2 separate regions of the Homo sapiens genome follow, and region 2 is linked to region 1. Evidence: promoter capture Hi-C in 16 types of primary human blood cells and fetal thymus (Javierre and others, 2016). All regions are on one chromosome and are shown on one strand. The core of a region is centred on a gene start or on the middle of the fragment in contact, and the rest is flanking DNA. Distances in the headings are between cores, read along the strand shown. Region 1 holds the start of OPN5 (opsin 5). Region 2 overlaps MMUT (methylmalonyl-CoA mutase).

The links. The method cuts DNA at HindIII sites, captures the fragments that hold promoters and counts their contacts. A CHiCAGO score of 5 or more calls a contact.
Region 2: a contact is called between a fragment that was not itself captured here and the fragment with the promoter of OPN5 in region 1, in 1 of 17 cell types (M2 macrophages). The highest score is 9.6, in M2 macrophages.

What each region holds. Positions count from the first base shown.
Region 1 is chr6:47,780,211-47,783,571 of GRCh38, forward strand. OPN5 (opsin 5) reads left to right here and starts at 1,822. Exons shown (of 7, transcript NM_181744.4): 1 at 1,822-1,986. The coding sequence starts at 1,857. The HindIII fragment of the contact is 3,260 bases long and covers 1-1,989 here.
Region 2 is chr6:49,440,734-49,444,463 of GRCh38, forward strand. It overlaps MMUT (methylmalonyl-CoA mutase), which reads right to left. Exons shown (of 13, transcript NM_000255.4): 10 at 1,107-1,238. Among named protein-coding and RNA genes, the nearest start is that of MMUT, 21 kb to the right of the region's middle. The HindIII fragment of the contact is 3,587 bases long and covers 411-3,730 here.

The DNA of each region.
Region 1 (3,361 bases), core at 572-3,071:
TAGCTATATCTTGATGGATAGGCAAGTTTGGGAAAAGTAAGCATCTCAGCATATAATAAATATACAGGACCCCCCATTCATAATATGCTTTCGAGTCCGATATCCTATTGCTCCTACAACAAGCATGAGTGACAGGTAAGAAGGAGACTGCCCATTTTACAGATGAAGTGGTTGCAGTTCAGAAAGTTTAAATGATTTGCTCAAGATCAGAGGGTGGGTATCACAGCTGGACTCCAACCTTCATCTTATGATTCTGAAGCTAAGGTGGAGGACAGGACTGGACAGCCAGTTGGGCGGGGGCAATCTTTGGGGAGGAGAGAGTTTACCAGAACAAGAGGCAGTCAAAGGGGAATCAGGAGTTTGAAAGGTAAAGATAAACTTTCACCTGGGGTAGGTCTTGGGATGTGGTGCATCTGGCAGCCAAAGATTTCTCCTACAGCTTTCTAACCATCTCAGGGAGAAGGATTTGGAATGAACATTAGCACATGACTGTCCTCAAACTGTGTGTAGGAGACTGTAGTTTCAGCCAACTGGCCACTGAAAGGGTCACTAGCCTTCCTCTGTAAGCTGTAAGTTGGCAGTTAGAAAGGGGTTAAATTCATGTCTTTTGCGAAGGTGAATTACATGGTTAGATATGTGCCGATCACCCTGTCACCGCCTGTGGGGCACACAACTCTGTGTTCCACTTGCTGTCTCATATAATGCCCGAAATTGTTGCCTAGAGAGCTGAACAGTGACATCTGTTGGTTCGATTTGAAATAGGCAAGTTCAAAAGAGAAACAGCCACACTAGTATTTCTTCCCCTTTCAAAACAAATAGGAACAATCATGACAAAGGAATGACCCTTCCAAAGGAAGTTTTAACATCAGCAGCATACTTTATCTGAAGAACAACACACGACTCCAAGTTTCAGGATGAGGGATATCATGTGACTTTTATTTTTGCAGAAAGCCCATCAAAGACTTTGTGTAAACCTTTTAAAACTCCAATTCAAAAGAAACAGTACTAAGACCTGTGTATCTGAGAAATTCCTCAATGCTCAAGATTTCATCCAGAAGCATAAATGAGCAAATAGAAAGTATGGATTTGGGGCAGTGGTGAGAAATAATGAAATTGCTTTCTGCTCTAGGAAACTTGAGAAACAAACCTTCCTGTGGATGTGCCTGTGAGTTACAACCCAGCTTGAATCCTTTCTAAATAGCTCCAAATTTCAAGATCACTTTGACAATCACCTAGCTCTTAGCTTCAATTAATTAAGTGTCCATGTTCCTTTGTACTGAATGCTCTATTTCTTTCCTTACAAAACTCTAAACCTCATTGAATGTACAATGGAAATGATTTTCTGGGAAATCTGGATAATCAAAAAATACTATATTCTGACAAGTTATATATATACATATGTAAATTTTTTATATATTATATATAATTTATATACATAAATTATATATATATAGTGTGTGTGTGTGTATGTGTGCACACTCCATACAATATCATTTCCTGCTCAGACCTTTACAAAAATTGCTAAGAAACAGTAAATTGCACAGTTTGGCCTTCAACCTTTTAATCACCCCAAGGAGAAAAGAAGTGGCTCAAAGAGTAGCATGAGAAAACAGAGGAGAAAATGAAGGCTTGGATAATCTGCCAACCGAATAACTGAGTAATGACATAATTGGATCATTGAAAAAAATGTTAAAATTTTTACCAGTTATTAATTAGAGAATCATGCATGACCCTGGGAACTTGCTTTTTGTTTTAAAACAGGAGCCACGATTATGAAATGGTTCAAGCTGGCTTATTCAGGTCTGCTGAGATCTCTACTGGTTTGCTTTTCAGATCCCTCGTGGTTCGAGAACAGAATGGCGTTAAATCACACTGCCCTGCCTCAGGACGAGCGCCTGCCCCATTACCTTCGAGATGGGGATCCTTTTGCTTCCAAACTTTCTTGGGAAGCGGATTTAGTGGCTGGCTTTTACCTAACAATAATTGGTAAGCTTCCTTAATTCTTCTGTGCAAAGGCTGCATTTAGAAAATTCATGGGCTGATATGTTAATTTTGTGAAAGGATTCTGATACTTAAGTGGATAGTTTAGTGGAGGCGAAGAGTGGGGAAAGGCAGAAGATGGAATGGCATTATGGCATTCAATAAATGTTTCCTAGAAATGACTCTTTATTATCATTATTATTAGGAATAAAATTCCATTGATAATCCAAGAACTCTTACAGCAAAATTATTTATCCATTTCATTTTGGTTACTTTGGGAGTAGATTTACTTTCTGAATACCAAAATTAATGATAATGATATTTTATTTAAACAGAGTGCTTTTTAAATAATGTTTTTGACATAATCATAAGTTTTAGGTTGAGAATGGGCCTTAAAAATAATCTAGGTCAGTCTCCTGTTCTCACAACTGTGCAAAACTCAATTGTGCTATTGTGCTATAGTACTATAGTAATGGCAGAAACACTGAGTTTACTTCACCTAAAAGTAAAGTCGCATCAAAATAGCTAAGCCATTTTGGTGACAGTTGAAAAATGTGTTGGTGATAAATGGAAGAAAGTCCGGGGTCAAAAGATTTTTGTGCATAATTGACGAAAGGGTGCACCTGCTTCTAGACTGCATGATCTCATTCATTCAGTAGCCACATGTGGCTTTTCCAAATTGAAAGTTGCTGTAGTGTAAATACTCACCAGATACTGAAGGCTCAGTACAACAAAAAGTGGTATAAAATATCTCATTAATAATTTTTAAAAATTAAATACATGTTGAACATACAACATTTTAGGTATGTTAAGCTAAATAAAATATATTATTAAAATTAATTTACTGTAAATTTTAAATTTATAAATTAAATTTTTACTTTGTAAATTTTTACTTTGTTTAATGTGGCTACCAGAAAATTTTAGAATCCATATGTGGCTCGCATTTCTGGCTTACATTACATTTATACTGGATAGCACTAATCTAGACAGTTAGGATTTAATTTAACCACCTATTTAAATTTAAGAAAAGAAACCATACTTTTCTTAAATTTAAAATTGTTGTTTTAACTTTGGGTGACCAGTGTGAAGGTGGGTTATGTCTTTAGGTTTGTTTGCCTTTAATTTTTTCAGATGTTGGGTCAAACTTGCTCTCTCTCTCTTTTCTCTTTGTTTCTATCTTTCTCTTCCACCCTTCTTCCCTTCCTCCCTTTCTCTCTTTTTCTCCCTCTCTCATCTATTTATTACTGGCTAAGAATTTCATTTAACCTCCTGAAAGTAGCAAAACTCATTAGAAAATACTTGATATCCCTCTATGGTCAGTACTTGAGGCAAAAGGAACTCATGTGATTCAACCAAATTCTGCTGTAAAGTGATTCCCTGG
Region 2 (3,730 bases), core at 954-3,453, 1.7 Mb after region 1:
CAGACTGTAAGCACATAACACTGAGAACATCACGGTGAACTAAGACAAAAAATGACAACCTCCCACCTTCGTGAGCCAGGGTACAGAGTACAACATGCAGAAAGATTGAAATATAAACTAAAAAGTGACTTCATGGTCATTTATACATATATGTGATAGACTGGCTGCTTTGAATTGTCCATATCTCATCTACCCTTCATAAGTGTGAACTCTCCCAAGGTAACAGCAATATGGTTTCTTATCATGCTATATAAATCAAAATGCTTGCTTGCTCCACTGACAAATTTACTTCCAACACAAAAAAGCACTTATCTTTGTTAAAAGAAAAAAGTTCCATTTTGATGACTTTCACCTTGGCTGTTTTGATATTTATCTAGTGTACAAGTATGGAAATTCAGTTTTTAATTGGAAGCTTGTTACAGAGGTTGGAAAGACCAATCATCAAAAAGCTAGTTCTTACACTTGAGAAATATGATCACATTAATATATATTTCCAAGTCATGCTGTGGAAATAAATGTAAGTTATTATCAGTTCAATAAATACTGATTGTAATGTATGCATAGATGCCAACTAAATGTTTACTTTCAATTATGAAAATTAAGATTTTATAATTATTCAAGCAATGAAAAATGTAAACAACTTCAAAAAATATGAAACTCTACCATAGTAAGCAGATTGAAATATAAATACCTGGAGGATATGAAGCAATATCATTGTTAGTTAAACATCTGTTTGACATGAGAAACTCCTGAAGGGGACTATGGTGAAAGTTCAAAATAGTATTAATTATATGAAAACTAATATTAGTTTCAATATTTGATATTTATTATTAAATATTATCATGTACCTATTAAAATGATAGTATAGATATATAATATGTATCATGTATGATATATTTCTAATTATATATTATATGTAATGAATAAATTATATACTCTATTATATGTTATATAGTCTATATAATTAATATTTAATTTACTATTTATTATTATAAAATTCAAAAATTTTCTCAGTTGTATGTAAGGAAATTAAGCTCCCAGTAGATTCAAGGGGATTGTGCTAACAGAAAAGATGAAATTCTGGCCTAAGAAACCTTACATATTACCTCTTGATAGCAGATGTTATCTCTTTACTTTCTCCAAATTCCTGGCGATATGCTCCACTCACCATTCGATCATTCGCTTTATGTTCACCAAATACCTTTTTCAGGGCATCTGTGATTTCTCCCACTGTACATCTGAAACATGAAATGGTGGTTCCATTAACTTCATTATTTTGTGATAAAGATATCTGTTTACCATAATATTCAATATAATTAAACATTTTATTACATAAGTAAATGACTGTAAAAATGTAAAATAAGAATTTTTTAATGCATTATGAAAGCATCTCTTCTGAAATTACTTAAGAAAAATTTATTCTGGATGCCTTTATGCATCCAATTCTCTTTTCAACATTTGTCAACCAAGAAATGACTGAATGACCTAATAATTATATATATAGACAAGTACCTGAAGGTTGCTGAATAATTCACCACTTAACACAAATGGATAAACAGCAACACTCCCATAAATATTTTTTGATAAGAAGTAAATCTTTTAGCATATTCCATCCATTTGTTCACTAACTCATCCAACATTAGCTGTGTGCCTAATATGTGCCAGATATTACTATATCTCTATATCTACTATAGCGATACAGTAATAAATGAGACCAAAGAAAAAGTACTTGTTCTTATAGACATTAACATCTGTAACATCTAGTCAGAGGATGCAGATGATAAATAACTAAATAAATAAACTAGTAAGACAATTTCATAAGGTAATAAGTACTACAAAGACACTAAACCACGCAAAGATGGAATGGGCTGTCTGGAAGAACCATTTTAAAGTTATTGAAGATGTGAAGATATGACTTTTGAACTAAGATATAAATTATAAAAAGGGGGATCCCAAGGGAACATAAAACAGTAAGAGTGTTTGAAAAAGGAAGCACTAAAAGCAAAGGCTCTGAGATGTAGGAAAATATGTTTTATGTTCTAAAAATAGAAAGAAGGGCATTAGGAACACGGCATAGTGAGGAAAGTGGTATAAGATGAGGTCAGAGAGATGGGCAAGAGTCACATCTAGCACATCTTGCAGACTATCGGAAGATTAGGTTTGAATATAAAAGGAATGGGCAACCATCAAAGGACTTTAATAAAAGTCATCTAATTTTTTTAATGAAATTAGTAGTAGAAAAAAACAGTACATACAAGTTATACTATACCTTAACCAGTTAAAGCAACATATTTTTTTAAAACTTCATTATATTAAGAAATAAACACTTAAAAGCAAAAGTAATCATTTAATGATACTGCCATATATTGGGAGAAAATTTTCCATGGGTCACTTGCTTTTCTGCACATCCTGTGGAGCAAAGCACTGACACCTCTTTATTCTGGACTATCTTTTCAAAGATGTCTGTATAGTGAATCGCCTTAGAAGACAGAAATATTGGCTACCTCCAGAGCAAAGAGTAGGTTTGCTTTCTGTCCAATATAATAATGTCTTCCTCTAGAAAAATGGAGGACATGCTTATTACCCATTACAAAAGATTCCGAATCCCTAAGCTCAGGCTTCCTCTCCTTGAATGTAACCCAATGCACTGTACATGAGGTATCATCTAGCAGTCCTTTTCACATCACTCACATCAATTGGGCATCAAAGGAACTAGCCCAAAACCTGCTGATGTTATGGCTATTAATATTGTAGTAACAAACTGTCATTAGGTTCTGATCCAGGGATCTCATATCATCAACCAACACCCCACTATACAGGATAACTTGTTAGCTTGCAAGAAGGGTAATATTTCAGACTCCTTCTGGTTCTTAATATAATAAATTTATTTATATATGATACATATAATGAGATAATTTTTAAATAACAACAAATAGAAAAATAATAAAAATTAACACATTAAGTGCCATATTCTGTTCCAGGAACTATTTTTAATGATTTAATGTCTTCTCACAAAAATCCTATTAGGTAGTAAGTACAAAAAACTTTACCTTGCCAAATATCGTGTCTATGGGAACACTGAAGCAGATATAACATGAGATTAGATTCTGTTTTTCACTCAGCCTTTTTTAAATGCAGGATGACAAAAGTTAGGAGACAAAGGAGCATGTTAAGGGTTACAAAGGCAAAACGTCTCAAGAAGGAAGAGGTGGTCAATAATGTTAAATACTGTAGAGAATTCAAGATAAGGACTAAAAATTATTCACAATATCAGACAAAGAGGAGGTCTCTAGTGAACTTAGTAAGAGCAATTATATTACAGTAGAAAATCAAATGCAGTAGACCAAAATGTCAAAAGGAGATAAAAGACTAGTAACAATTAATAAGTATTCTACTCCTAAAGGAACACATGGCTCCAATAACAAGGGAAGGACTGGGAGGGGGGTGTGGGGAAGTTGGTTGCTCTTCCGGTTGCTTCATGGTTAAAACTAATTCAAAAGCAATGGGATGACAAGTTTTTCCTATAAATTCTCAGATTAATGTTCCCCTCCCCACCCCACAGCCATTTTAACTGGTAAAATACCAAGGTAATAGGCATAAACCTGGTGATATACTTGAGAGTCCAACACATTTCAACCTGCGAATCAGTGAAATGGATTCATTTCAATAGTTTCAAAATTCCTCAGCCACAGTAAAATACACAATTATTAATACAGTTCACTCAAAACAT